Linked DNA regions of Homo sapiens: all the other regions are linked to region 1. The links are contacts of gene promoters, found by promoter capture Hi-C in blood cells and fetal thymus (Javierre and others, 2016). All regions are on one chromosome and are shown on one strand. The core of a region is centred on a gene start or on the middle of the fragment in contact, and the rest is flanking DNA. Distances in the headings are between cores, read along the strand shown. Region 1 holds the start of LINC00608 (long intergenic non-protein coding RNA 608). Region 2 overlaps LOC105373883 (a long non-coding RNA gene). Region 3 has its middle 2.2 kb from the start of RESP18. Region 4 overlaps PLCD4 (phospholipase C delta 4). Region 5 overlaps STK36 (serine/threonine kinase 36).

The links. The method cuts DNA at HindIII sites, captures the fragments that hold promoters and counts their contacts. A CHiCAGO score of 5 or more calls a contact.
Region 2: a fragment that was not itself captured here is called in contact with the fragment with the promoter of LINC00608 in region 1 in 8 of 17 cell types (M2 macrophages, activated CD4 T cells, non-activated CD4 T cells and 5 more); the score reaches 8.6 in M2 macrophages.
Region 3: a contact is called between a fragment that was not itself captured here and the fragment with the promoter of LINC00608 in region 1, in 9 of 17 cell types (M2 macrophages, M1 macrophages, erythroblasts and 6 more). The highest score is 10.0, in M2 macrophages.
Region 4: a fragment that was not itself captured here is called in contact with the fragment with the promoter of LINC00608 in region 1 in 1 of 17 cell types (M2 macrophages); the score reaches 5.0 in M2 macrophages.
Region 5: a contact is called between a fragment that was not itself captured here and the fragment with the promoter of LINC00608 in region 1, in 2 of 17 cell types (M1 macrophages and M2 macrophages). The highest score is 5.9, in M1 macrophages.

Annotation. Positions count from the first base shown.
Region 1 is chr2:218,974,862-218,977,618 of GRCh38, forward strand. It overlaps LINC00608 (long intergenic non-protein coding RNA 608), which reads left to right and starts at 1,423. Exons shown (of 2, transcript NR_024385.1): 1 at 1,423-2,537; 2 at 2,621-2,757. The HindIII fragment of the contact is 22,563 bases long and covers 787-2,757 here.
Region 2 is chr2:219,361,998-219,364,754 of GRCh38, forward strand. It overlaps LOC105373883 (a long non-coding RNA gene), which reads right to left. Exons shown (of 2, transcript XR_923917.3): 2 at 505-811. Among named protein-coding and RNA genes, the nearest start is that of DNPEP, 25 kb to the right of the region's middle. RefSeq lists an enhancer at 566-615. The HindIII fragment of the contact is 1,677 bases long and covers 502-2,178 here.
Region 3 is chr2:219,333,568-219,336,324 of GRCh38, forward strand. No RefSeq gene overlaps it. Among named protein-coding and RNA genes, the nearest start is that of RESP18, 2.2 kb to the left of the region's middle. RefSeq lists an enhancer at 1,156-2,355. The HindIII fragment of the contact is 2,771 bases long and covers 52-2,757 here.
Region 4 is chr2:218,634,755-218,637,511 of GRCh38, forward strand. It overlaps PLCD4 (phospholipase C delta 4), which reads left to right. Exons shown (of 16, transcript NM_032726.4): 14 at 1,042-1,177; 15 at 1,489-1,638; 16 at 1,717-2,421. The coding sequence ends at 1,823. It overlaps ZNF142 (zinc finger protein 142), which reads right to left. Exons shown (of 11, transcript NM_001379659.1): 11 at 1-2,757. Among named protein-coding and RNA genes, the nearest start is that of ZNF142, 23 kb to the right of the region's middle. The HindIII fragment of the contact is 965 bases long and covers 956-1,920 here.
Region 5 is chr2:218,701,219-218,703,975 of GRCh38, forward strand. STK36 (serine/threonine kinase 36) reads left to right here. Exons shown (of 27, transcript NM_015690.5): 27 at 648-1,497. The coding sequence ends at 791. Among named protein-coding and RNA genes, the nearest start is that of TTLL4, 8.2 kb to the right of the region's middle. The HindIII fragment of the contact is 889 bases long and covers 948-1,836 here.

The sequences.
Region 1 (2,757 bases), core at 173-2,672:
GGTCAAGGTGGGAGGATCATTTGAGTTCAGGAGTTCAAGACAAGCCTGGCCGACATGGTGAAAACCCATCTCTACTAAAAATACAAAAATTAGCTGGGCGTGGTGATGGGTGCCTGTAATCCCAGCTACATGGGAGGCTGAGGCAGGAGAATCACTTGAACCCAGGAGGTGGAAGTTGCTGAGAGCCAAGATTGCACTAGCCTGGACGACAGAGCAAGGCTCTGTCTCAAAAAAAAAAAAAAAAGAAAGAAAGAAAGAAATATTCATCCAGGCACAGTGTCTCATGCCTGTAATCCAAGCACTTTGGGAGGCCAAGGTGGGAGAATCATCTGTAGCCAGGAGTTTGACGCCAGCCAGGGCAACACAGTGAGACCCCTATCTCTACAAAAGCAAAATAAGATTAAAACAAGCTGGGCATGGTGGTGCATGCCTGTAGTCTCAGCTACATGGGAGGCTGAGATGGGAAGATCTCTTGAGCCCAGGAGTTCAAGGTTGCAGTAAGCTATGATCATGTCACTGTCCTCCAGCCTGGGCAACAGAGTGAGACTCTATCTCTAAACAAAGAAAACAAAAGAAATAGGAAACATCACAGTCAATGGGACATTGAACCATTCACCTCTATACATGACATGCGTCATCCCAAGATGGAGGAGTGTCATGGAGAAATCCTGCTGACCAAACAAAAGTAGGAAATGCCACTCAAGTCAATATATAATCAGAGCCCCACCCCACCTCAGAGTACAGTGATCTTCTCCAAGCCTGCAGCGCCTCAGTTAGGAAAGTGAAAGCTTGCAAAAGGCATTGGGGCAACAAAATAGTCTCTATTTCTTATCAGGGACAAAATGTACTTCCTTATCAAACAGAGACCTAACCAAGGACACTCATAAGGCAAGCTGTCAGTTTGTCCTTTATAACCAATTGTAGGCGGTGTGCACCTGTACTGGGCAAGCAGCAGGTCATGTTTACATGAGGAAGAAGCTATCCAGGAAGGCCAGTAAGAGGGGATCTAGTGGGATGGTAAGGATTTCAGTTGTCAGGTCATGGGCTGGCCCAGCCACTTCACTTCTCCAAGCCTTGGTTCCCTCATTTGAAAACAGAGATAACCATCCCCATCTGGTAAGGTTGTAGCCAGGTCAAAGGAAATACCACCTGTAAAACATTAGCATAGGGCAGAGCCTGGCAGAGTCATGTTCAATGAGTGGTAAGGCATACTTTTATCATCAGCAGATCCACTTGACATGGATTATAAATAGCTAAAGAAACAAGTTCATTTTGGTGCATTTCAAAGACATATTAAAGGAAAGGTGGAGGCCAGAAGAGCAGAAGGCTCTGAGAAAAGTGCATCACAGTGGCCCATTATGATGTCTGTCTATGGTCACGTGAGCTGGCATATGAGAGTGCTCTGTGAGCCTCAGTGCCTTCAGTGGCATCATTGCACTGTGACTGTGCAGGTCCCAAACAGTATGGACATGAATGTCCTCAAGCTGCATGTTAGCAGGGCTTCTAATTCCATCTGCAAGTGATAGTGTGTGGAGCTTAGTTGCACAGAGCGCATGTTACTGGAGGAGATATGGGTCTGTGTCATCCTGCATGGGAATGATCCTAAAAACAAAGTGATCAGTGACTGCTCAGGACTGTGGAAAGGTCACTTGGAGCAGTGGGAAAAGGTCTGGCAGAGGAATAAGAAGATACAGGTCTTAGAACAAGCCCTGGGACTTCAACCAAGTCATTTAACATCTGGGGCCTTCGTTTATTTATCCTCCCAGCAGATAAAGCAATACCTGCCCTGTCTTCCTAACCTTGGAGGGGTCAAAAAAGTGATGGGTGTGAAAGCATTTTGTAAACTGTAGTGCAAGCATACGGCAGGGGAGTGAACCATACTTTCACTAGCGACTTGAATGAGGTGATAAAGAAAAGGCTCAGAACTTCAGAAAATGCAAGAGGGGCTTGACCCTGGATTGGCAGAGGAAAGCAATGGTGGGATCGATACCTTGGAGAGCCAAGGACCAAGGGGTTAAGGGTCCATGAGGACAGGCCTGGATCATCAGGAAGCTGAGTGTGGTAAGACTGTGGCTTCTTCAGGGATTGGGTGGAGTACAGTCCTGCCAAGACCACAGTAACTCAGGGCTTGGAGACATCACAAAGGCAGGGGCTCCTAGAGCTGAGATAATCTGGAGAAGAGGATACCCATCTACTGCATTCTGAGATTGGGTTCGACCTGTAGGTCATCTTGGATAGACGTTTTCCAGCTCTTCTTTTTTTTTTTTTTTGGAACAGAGAGAACCTAATTGACCCTTAAAGTTCCACAGAGCAGAGTTTGCAAATCTCTGGTTCAGCCTTATTATTTAAATGAGAGGAGAATGAAATCCCAGAAAAGAGATGTGATTATGTGAAGGTCACACAGCAAGTTAGTTGCCAAGCTGCAACTGGAACTCAGAATTTCTGGTTCCCAGTTCTATATCTTAGCCTCCCAAACTGGCTATGTGGACAGGAAAGAACAGAGTAATGGGGTGAGCTTTAAGGATGCAATTTCATAGGTAAGAAGATCCCTTAATCTAACAATATCTCCCCCAGCTCCCCAACAATGACTAAAATCCCCCCTTTATTGACTCCTTCACAGGATTCCAAGAGTCTCAAGGTTAGAGAAGTCGCCTAGTCCACCTCCCCTCTCTGCTTCTCACAGAAGGGTCTGCTGAACACTCTGGTGACAGAGAACTCACCCAACATGTTCCATGGCAGAGGCTTTTCATTAGATCA
Region 2 (2,757 bases), core at 90-2,589, 390 kb after region 1:
GCAGTGAGCAGAGATTGTGCCACTGCATTCCAGCCTGGGTGACAGAGCAAAACTCCATCTCAAAAAAAAAAAAAAAAAGAGAGAGAAGAGGCAGCTCCTCCGAGATGGGTCAGAGCTCTATGGGGAGCCCCAGGTGGGCATCTAGATGGTGAAGAGCCCAAAGACTCTAGAAGTGGGTTCTCGGGACTTGCGCATGCGTACATGTGTTTATATGTGTATACATGTGTTTATATGTTTGTGCATGGGTGTTGTGTCCATGTGTTTATATGTGTGTGCATGTGTTTGTATGAATCAATGTGTACTGTATGCATGTGTGTTTGTGTGTGCGTATGTAGGTTTGTATGTGTGGGAGATGTATTTGTGTATGTAGATGGGATGTGTGTGTCAATGTGTATATGTGTACATGTAGTGTACTTGTATTCATTGTCTATTACTTTTTTTAAAAATCCAGTTTTAGCAAAGAATATCTATGGCTTATTGCTACATGACAAATTACCCCAAAGCTTAGTCGCTTAAACTATAAACATCTATTTCACAGTTTCTGTGGACTGGGAATCTGAGAGAGGCTTAGCTGGGTATTTTTGGTTCAGGGTCTCTCTTGAAGTTGCAGTGAAGATGTTACTCAGGGTTGGCTGTAGTCTTCTGAAGGCTTGCGTGGGGCTAGAGGATCCACTTTCAAGATGACTCACCCTCCTGGCAAGACGATGCTGGCTGTTGGCAGGAGGTCTCAGTTCCCTACCACATCAGCCTCTCCATATGGCTGCTTGAGTGCCTCATGACACAGCAGCTGGCTTCCTCTGGAGTGAGTGACCTGAGAGAGAGAGAGAACCAGGCAAAAGCCACAGTGTTTTTAAAACCTAGCTTTGGAAGTCCCATGCCATCATTTCTGCCATATTATACTGGCCACAGAGACCAACCCTGATACACTGTGGGAGGGACTACACAAAGGCATGAATTCCAAGAGGTAAGGATCACTGGAGGTCATCTTGTAGGATGGCTATCACATGCAGTATGTGCGTGTGGGTATGTGGGGTGTGTGTTTGTGGGTGTGTACATAAAGATGTGTGTGTTTGTGTATATATGTGTATGTTTTTGCATATGTATATATGGATATATAGCAATATGTTTGTGTGACATGTATCTATGTATTGTCTGCATATGTGTATGCATGCATTTATGTATATGTATCTGTGTATTGCACATGTGTGTTTTTTGCGCACGAGTATGCATGCATGTATTATGCCTACATGCATGTCTCTGTGTTTGTATGTTGTGCATGTGTGCATATATGTGTATGCCTTTTTGTATGTATTTGTAGTATGTGAATGAGCATATGTATGCATGTGTGATGGGTTTGTATATGTATCCAGGTGTATATGTGTGTCTATGCCTGTGGCTGTATATGTTTGCAAACATTGTATGTGCATGTGCACCTGTGTTGTGTGTGTGCATGTATGCTTACATGTGTGTGTTTCTGTATAGATGTCCATGTGTAAGTCCGCATGTGTCTGTTTATGTGTGTGTAGGTGTATATATGTTACGTTTATGTATGTGTGTGAGGTGTATGTGTGTAGGTTTGAGAATATGTGTGTGCATTACTATGTACATATTGCACTTGTATATATAAATGTGTGCTGGCACATGCATACAAACTTAGGAATGTCACCTGCTGTGGGAGGAAAGCCTGGAGTCAGGAGTGGGGAGACTCAGGGAGGAGTCCCTATTATTCCTGGGGTAGCCCATGAGTGGAAGGCTCTGGAGCCTGGAGAGCAGGCTCTCCCTTGCATTTAGGATATGTGGATCCATGGTCCTCTGCATCTGGCTTTCCTTTGTCAAGGCTTTCTGTTGTTGTTCATTTTTGTTTGAACATTTCAGTCTTTCCTAAGCTGTCAAATAAAGCAGCAGAGAAAGGGTGGTCTCTATTGCCTGGAAGTTGAGAGTTCAGTGTAGACTAGTGCCCCTTTGGGGCTGGCCTGGGGAAAACAAGGGGATTTCCCTGGAGAGCACGGCTGACCCTCCCTCTCATCTCTTCTCGCCTAGGGCCACTCTGGGAGCTTCTGGAGTTTATTGGGCAAGAAGGGAGGGCATTTCTTTACTTCTAATAATCCAGTCATCTTAGGAGCCACTCTTTTCCTCTTTCCATTTAGAATATTTCTGACACCAACTTTTGTGTTTAGAAGCTTTTATGCTTTTTTTTAAAAAAAGTATTTTTACCTTTTGATTATGAAAGGTAATACATATGAACAGAAGTAGACAGAATGTAAAGATACAGCTCAACAGATTTTCAGAGTGAATAGCCATTTATACTATCCAATAAGAGGGTTCAGGACATGCCACCCAGAAACATGGCACACTGGCATGTTGAATATTTTAAGCTGGAAGGATCTGAGAAACAGCATGTGCAGGACAATCTCTCTGACTTCCCTGATCCTTCTCTCCTGAAGGGATCTCCCTGATCCTTTCCCCATGTGAAAGGTGTCCTTCCTCCAAAGATGGGGACACAGACAGGAATCTGAACACATGGGCCTTGTTAAGTCTTTTGGGTAAATAAAATTAGTTTTAAGATTGTTGGCAGGCTGGGCGCAGTGGCTCACACCCCTAATCCCAGTGCTTTGGGAGGCTGAGACAGGAGCATTACTTGCGCCCAGGAGTTTGAAACCAGCTTGGACAACATACTGAGACTTGGTCTTTACAAAAAGTTTAAAAAGTAGGCCGGGCTTAGGGGCTCACGCCTGTAATCCCCGCACTTTGGGAGGC
Region 3 (2,757 bases), core at 187-2,686, 360 kb after region 1:
AGTTTGTGAGCTTTCTAACTCTTAGACTGGCATTTAAATTTTTTTTCATTAAGCTTAAAACATTTATTAAACTGGGCATGGTGGCTCATGCTTGTAATCTCAGCACTTTGGGAGGTCGAGATAGTGGATTACTTAAACCTAAGGGTTTGTATAGTGAACATTTGGGGTTGATACATTACAAAGGATCTGAATTATATTATTATCTTTAAAGGGTAATAGTTTGAGTTTGTTCTGGCAGGCAATTAAATTTTTGGTAAAAAGTCTTGATCCTGTGGCAGTCTGGTTAGGGAAGGAGTACTTCATCCTATTCTCAATTCTAGCCTGTATCTCTTAGTCCTGGGATATGGTGCTTATGGCTAAGGTGTGGTCCTTTTTGGATTTCAACATAACCCAAAGTCATTTACCAAAACTCTCTATTTTACGGGTCCTGAACTCCAAACTCAGTCACCCTAACACTGTGACAGCTGCCAAAATCTCTGTTCAGATATTTGACTTTTTCACTAGGTTCCTTGAAATCTCACCCTGCGCAAGTGCCATTTAGAAGATAGCTAAGAATTGGAGGGGAGTTAGGATGCAGATTTTGAGTTCCTCTCTCTGTAATTTATTCATTTTCTAAATTTCTTCCTCAATTTCCAGATGCTCTGGCATCTCTGTACTCCAAAAGCTGTTTCCTTAGTAAGACTGCCAGTTGCTGACAGAGCTGTTTCCCTGTGTACTGCAGTGAACTCTGAAGTATCTTCAGAGGAAAAGCCTATACATGTATAAGTCACTTGGTGGACTTCCTTTTTTTGAGGACTATACTCCCTGTAGGTTTCTAACTCTTGATCAGTCTCCATGCTTTCATACAGTTATTTTTATATTTTGCCTAGAGTATATACCCAATGTTAGGAGGATCCGACACAAGTTTCTGTCTTGTCACGCCAAAAACTAGAGGTTTATCTGGTTGTCACTGATTATGTACTGGACATGCTATTTTAAAATAAATTTATAGCAATAATTTGAGGCCTAAGAGCAAATGAACGTGAACCTGCTTTGTGAAGTATAATGCTCCTGGAAAAAGGGAAATATTGGTCTTTGGGTCGGCTGAACAAAGGTGAGTGTGCTCCTCTCTGTATTTTAAGATTTTAAACCACCAGGAGAATGGCTATCAAAATGATAAATGTACAGGAGCATTGATGCTGCTCTTCTTTTTACTGTTCATTGGAAGGGATTCTAATGCTAAGAGTAATACCCTCAGAAGACTTAGCAGGTTTTCAGGCCTATTGAACCAGGGGTTCGTAGGAAGGAACTTTCTTTCCCAAGAAGAAAGAAAGACTACCATAAAGTGTAGCTGGGGAGAGTGGGCGAAGGAAGATTGTAATTCAGCTGTGGTCCTACTCTGTCTTACATTCATGTTACAAATGATGTCCGGAAGGAGAAGGAGATCAGAAGCCTAGGCTCCATGTGTACCAAGGAGTTTTACTATTTCAATCCCCACCCCAAATGTCCTCTCTGTTCTGGCTTTACATATTTTAATTCAGAAGCTCTGGCTGAGGCCCACTGTCTTACTTGCAGACAAGCCTGCTTAAAGAATTTTCATGAAAACTCACTTTAAAAAATCCAGTAGCAAGTTGTCCTAAAACTGCCTCTCTGCAGGGTAATGGGGCTGGGAGAGGAGGAAGGCCTCAATCTGTGACAAAGTTTTGCTCAGAGAAGGAAACAGTTCAAAGAAGCTCTAAAATGGGAGGAAAATCGGATTTGGAATTTGTGTGTATATGTGCCAGGGGCTCCCCCTCCACAGTGTAAGCTCCCCTCACCCCACTATATAAGGGCCTCTAGTTGCAGTCTTGACTTGGGCAAGTCTTGAGGAATAGTGACTCAGCAACCACCTGACAGCTAGCCTCCCCTTGGCTCCGACGTCATGATCTTCTCTCTCTCCCTGATTTTCCCTTAGGTACAGAGCTAGTCAAGGACGCTGAGCCTGCAGAAGAAAGGCAGATTCTTGTTTGCATAATTGGTAGCACCATGACAACCAGTTCTTATTGTGAGGATCAGTCATTTAGTGCTGATGATGCCACTCCAGCGACCAATCCAGGTAGGAGAAGTGTAGCTGCCATGGTGACAGGAATCAAGAAGCAGTTTCCTTGGAAGCATAAGGATCTAGAGCCCCCTGAGGTTCAGGCTGCCTGTTGGGGCAGTGCAGGGCCAGATAGAGGTGCTAGGCTCCTGTGATTGCCTCGCCCAGGCCACCACAGTCTTTCTTGGACCAAGACAACACTTCCTAACTGATCTATTGATTCCACTCTTTCCCCTATCAATATATTCTCAAGTAGCCTTTTAAAATTATATATCACATAATTCTATTCCCTTCCTTAAAATCCCCAGTGATTTTTCCTCTGTACTTTGCATAAGATCTGGACGCTCTACTGTTGCCTACAGAGCTCTGTCTAGGCAATTTTGGACTTATTTCTCCAATCCCATCTCCTATCACTGGTTGTTCTGTTTGTTTTTCTAAAGTGCCATTTGAGAAATGAAAAAATATAATAACTAAAATAAAAACTCACTGGATGAGCTCCAAGCGGGATAGAAATGACAGAAGAGTCAGTCAACTTGAAGATGGGTCAACAGAAATAATCCAATCAGAACAAGAGAGAGAAAAAACATTGGGAAAAAAAAAGTTAACAGAACTTCAGGGACCTGTAGGGCAATATCAAAAGTCCAAAATTAATGTCATTGGAATTCCAGATTAAGAGGATAAAGTGCAGTACACACAAAAAT
Region 4 (2,757 bases), core at 188-2,687, 340 kb before region 1:
TTTGGAGCCAGCTGCCTAGCTTCAAACCACAACTTCCTAATTGGGTAATGTTGGGCAAGTTCCTTAACCTCTCCATACCTCAGTCTGCTCACCTGCAAAATAGGGGTAACACTACCACCTGCCTCACAGGGTTATAAGGAGTATAACAGTTAATATAAAGTTCTTACAATTCCTGGCACACAGGAAGTGCTATAAAAGAGGCTGGCTGGGAGCGATAGCTTACACCTGTAATCCCAGCGCTTTGGAGGCCAAGGCAGGAGGACTGCTTGAGCCCAGGAGTTTGAGACCAGTCTGAAACTGGTCTCAACAAAAAATTTAAAAATTTTGTAGAGACTCCCGTCTCTACAAAAAATTTAAAAATTAGCCTGGCATGGTGGCACATGACTATAGATAGTCCTGGCTACTCAGGAGGCTAAGGCTGGAGGGTCACTTTAGCCCAGGAGATGGAGGTTGCAGTGAGCTATGACTGCCCCACTGCATTCCAGCTTGGTCAAGAGTATGATCGTGTCTCTTTGAAAAAAAAAAAGTGGCTGCTGTCATTAGCATGCCTACTTTCAAACTGTTGAATTTCTACCTGGATCCATTTAATTTATTTGTTTATTCTGAGACAGAGTCTTGCTCTGCTGCAGGCTGGAGTGCAGTGGCATGATCTTGGCTCACTGCAACCTCCGCCTCCTGGGTTCAAGTGATTCTCCCATCTGAGCCTTCCGAGTAGCTGGGACTACAGGCGCCCGCCACCATGCCTGGCTAATTTTTGTATTTTTAGTAGAGATAGGGTTTCACCATGTTGGCCAGGCTGGTCTCCTGGTTTCAAGTGATCTGCCCACCTCGGCCTCCTGAAGTGTTGGGATTACAGGTGTGAGCCACCGTGCCCGGCCTTTGGGTGCATTTTAAATTGCAGATAGAATACTAGAAGAAAATATATTACCCATGGAGGATGTTTTACAAACCAAAAAGCTTCTTCTCCCCTGGGGTTGGGAGTAGGGTCGGGTGGGGCTGGGCTGAGCAGGAACTTGTGAGATTCCAGAGCCCTGACTACAGGTGATCAGCGGTCAGCAACTCCCCAAAGTGGACAAGACCAAAGAGGGGTCCATTGTGGATCCACTGGTGAAAGTGCAGATCTTTGGCGTTCGTCTAGACACAGCACGGCAGGAGACCAACTATGTGGAGAACAATGGTGAGAAACTGGCAGTGCTGGGGAGGTGGGGGTAGGAGCATGATTAGTTTTCCTTCTAGTCTGTCTTCCATTAAGTATAGCATCTGTTATTGCATGTCCCCACATGGGAGGCAGTGTGGAACAGTACAAAGAATCCTGGCTCTTCACTTAAAAGCTCCAGTGACCTGGGCAAATTACTTGCTTACTCTGAGCCTTTTTCCTTACCTGTAAAATGCTGATTGCCATCTAGATTAAATGAGAACACAAGAAAAGCAACCCAGTCAAGAAAACTGTCATAATGTCTTCTTATTTCTTTCTGTCCACCAACTCAGGTTTTAATCCATACTGGGGGCAGACACTATGTTTCCGGGTGCTGGTGCCTGAACTTGCCATGCTGCGTTTTGTGGTAATGGATTATGACTGGAAATCCCGAAATGACTTTATTGGTCAGTACACCCTGCCTTGGACCTGCATGCAACAAGGTGAGCCAGCCCCTTTGGCCCCTGGCCAATACCCCAGCTCTGGCTGCCTTCCTAATGCTGTCCTCCTGCCCCTTCCAGGTTACCGCCACATTCACCTGCTGTCCAAAGATGGCATCAGCCTCCGCCCAGCTTCCATCTTTGTGTATATCTGCATCCAGGAAGGCCTGGAGGGGGATGAGTCCTGAGGTGGGCATTTCACGGGAAGGGTTGGTGTGCTGGCTTTAGACGGGGAGAAACATCTGGAAGGATGCTCGAGAGAACAAATGGAGGTGGTGAAAATCAAGCTTTGGATTGTGCATTCCTAGGCACAAAATTACCTCATTCTTCCTAACAAGCAATCTGGGACCTGATTTTCCACCTTTTTTCTCTTTTCTTCCCTTCCTTTGTTTTCATAAGCCTTTGGTATCTTTCCTGCCCTTTTCCTTTGTGTACTCTATACTGGAGTTCCCTTCTTCCTCTTGCTGTAGGCTCAATCCCATACCGACATCTACAACTAATCTTTCCCATCAACTCTGTGTGAAGGCAGGTTGCAACTAGAAATTCAGAGGGGCTTGGAATAGAGAAACCTAAAGAAGCATCATCCCCTCCATCCCCAACTTCCTCAAAGCCCAAAGCCAAGGGAAGGATAAATCAAGGCTCAAGGCTTCCCCAGCAAAGATTAGGGAAAGAGACTTGACCCCAGGACTGTACTACGACTCTTAAGAGAACACTGCACAGCACTCAAAGTCCCCCACTGGACTGCTTCCTCCTTAGCCCCACTGGTATAAATACATCTCTCTCCAATTTGGCTTCAATATGGTCTGTCATTGTTGGGCAAGAAGGGGAGGTACAAGGGTTGTGGGGACATCTGGGTAGTCAGGTGAGACAAGGAAAAGGTAGAGAAAGAGGTTCCCAGGAGACCTCTTGCATGTGCTACATAGGAAGGACACAGAGTATGGCTTTTAAGAATCAGGGCAAAAGCAGACAAAAGGTTATGTGGTCCCAGCCTTCCTGAAGAGTCTGGCTGGAACCATCCTGGTTTATGTCTGTTGTCCCAGCATAATTATTAATAGTACCCTCTTTAAGTTTTCCCAGTGTGTCTCAGTTTAGATGATCAATTATATAGTAAGGCACTACAGA
Region 5 (2,757 bases), core at 142-2,641, 270 kb before region 1:
CTGCCTCCCGGGTTCACGCCATTCTGCCTCAGCCTCCCGAGTAGCTGGGACTACAGGCACCTGCCGCCACACCCAGCTAATTTTTTGTATTTTTTTTTTTTTTAGTAGAGACGGGGTTTCACCGTGATAGCCAGGATGGTCTCGATGTCCTGACCTCGTGACCCGCCCGCCTTGGCCTCCCAAAGTACGGGATTACAGGCATGAGCCACCTTGCCTGGCCGATGGTGAAGATCCTATAGGAATCTTGTGCAATCCATGGGGAAAATAATTAATGGGATTCTTGGTGGTAATGAGGTTAGAACTCACTGGTCTGCATTGAAGGCTAGGAATTAGACCTTTTGGCTTACTGTGAGTTACTGCTGCATTCATCAAGTCTTCCTGGGGACAAGTATATGTGTCCCTTAGTGCCTTGGTTTCATGGTCTATAACCAAAGAGAATGGAAGTAGACTTCTGGTCCTGATGATTCCTATCTCCAAGGTTTCTCTTCTGCCATTCAGTCTATTCCAAGTCCCCAAGAGCCCATTTCCTTTTTCTTCCTCTTCTCGAGTGGGAATTCCTGGGTAAATGAGAGTCCTCCGCACCTGCCCCAGACACCACCATTTCTGAGCCTCATGTTCTGTTCTATCATCTGTTCTCTATCCTACAGGTACTGGTGTCCCTGGGTGCCAGTGAGAAACTATCCTTGCTCTCTCTGGGGAATCAGTCACTGCCACACAGCAGTCCTAGGCCTGCCTCTGCCAAACACTGCAGGAAACTCATTCACCTCCTGAGGCCAGCCCATAGCATGTGATTCCAGATTCCTGCGGTCCAGCCTCCAACTTTGGTTGCCAGCTCTTTCTTATTCTACTACACAAGCCGCCAACTCAACTGAGAGCTAAAGAGACTAGAAAAGAGATAAGCTGCCAACTCAACTGAGAACAAGAAACTAGAAGAGATTTATATATAAAGCTTCTTCCTTCTCCCAGATGCAGGATGTTTTCAACCAGTAAATTTTATTGCTGTTGGTGCCAGAGAAGAGTCCTTTCTTCTCTACATCCAGGGGCCTTTTCTCCAATAATGTGCCTTTAACTCTAGGGACCTGCCTCACGGACCTTAGGGAAAAACCTCAACCTGAAAGATCTCTTCCTTTCTGGAGCTCCTTTAATCTTCCCAGCAGGTTTTTGCCTTAGACGTGCTGGCCCCAGGACAGTGATGAAGACAGAGCCTGTCTCAGCTCTAGGCTGTGGGGATCAATGCCATCAGTCCCTGTTATTGAGGGATTATCCCTTAGCCAACATTCCTATCTGTGGGTGGGCGTGGAGAGTGTATCTTTTTTTGGGGTGTGTGTGTATATGTGTGTGTGTATGTGTGTGTGTGTTTAATAGTTCTGTTTGTAAACTCTTTTAATAAAAGTTGTGCCTCACCATACTTGAAGCTCCCAGGACAAGGGTTGAGAGGCTCAACCCCTCTTTCAGCTTCTATGTGGTGTTGGAGGTGCTGGTATCGTGTTCACACAAGATCCTGGTCTGGCAGCTTATTTATATCATTTCTTGCCTTTACCAATTTCCCCCTTCCTAGATGAACTATATTTGGTTACCTACTTTCAAGTCAAGGCCGGTGGAGCTGAAATAGGAAAGGGTAAGATTCAACAGAGCGGTCAATTAGGTTGCTCAGACTTAGTGACTAATTTTAATATTTAGTGGAGTTCTAATGTGTAGGGACTCCAAGCTGCTGTAGAAGGATAGCTATTTTAAAGATTGTACAATTTACCAGAAAGGGCTTTTAGTCAGACCTGTTAGAATTATAATCTAACTGGAAGCATTGGAAAACCTTAACTCATTGGATGGCTTAGAACAAGCTTCCAGGGCCTTGATTTCTCCATCCATAAAATGAGGAGACTCCTTTCTGTCCTTCCTTAAATTCCAGTTGTTTTAGAAATGAAAGACAAGTAAAGTGCCCTTATTTTTATAAGAAATTTTGTTTAACCCTCATCTTCATTGTCCACAGTGTTTATACTTTAGCAAAAATAATATTTTTCTAGGGAGCACCATAATTTTCTTCTATCCAGATTATCTCAATTCAGTTCAATGTATATTTTTTGAGTCCTTTCTGTATGCCAGATACTATTCTAGGTACAGGAGATAAAACAGTGCCCATCATAGAGTTTCCATTCTGGTCGGGGAGATAGTGAAATTATTAAAAGAATAGTATGTAGGAAGGTGGTAAAAGCTATGGAGAAAAAGAAACCAGGGAAAGGAGATGAGGAGTGCTGAGTCGGATGGTCAGGGTAGGCCTCACTAGAAGGTGACACTTGAGAAAAGACTCGAAGGAGGCGAGGGAGTGAGTTGTGCACCTATTTTGGGGAAAAGCCAAGGCCCTGAGATGAAAGCATGCCTGGCATGCTTGAGGAGCTATGAGGAACCAGTATGGATTAAGTGAGTAAAGAAGGTGGAGAATAGTAGGAAATGAGACAGGAAGGTAATGGTGGGGGCCAGATATTGTAGGCTTTGTAGACCTTGGTGAAGACTTGGGCTCTTACTTTGAATGAAGGAGGCATCTATTGCAGGCTTTTGAACAGAGAATTTTATGAACTACCTTGCATCCTAAACGGATCATTCTTCATTCTGGTCTTGTGAATGGCTATGGGGAGTAGGGGAGAATGCGAAGTAGGATAAGCAGTTAGGAGGCTATTGTTATAATAATCCAGGCAAGAGACAATGGTGTCCTGGATGGCGACTGGGGTGATACCTATGGAGTGATAAAAAAGTAGTCAAATT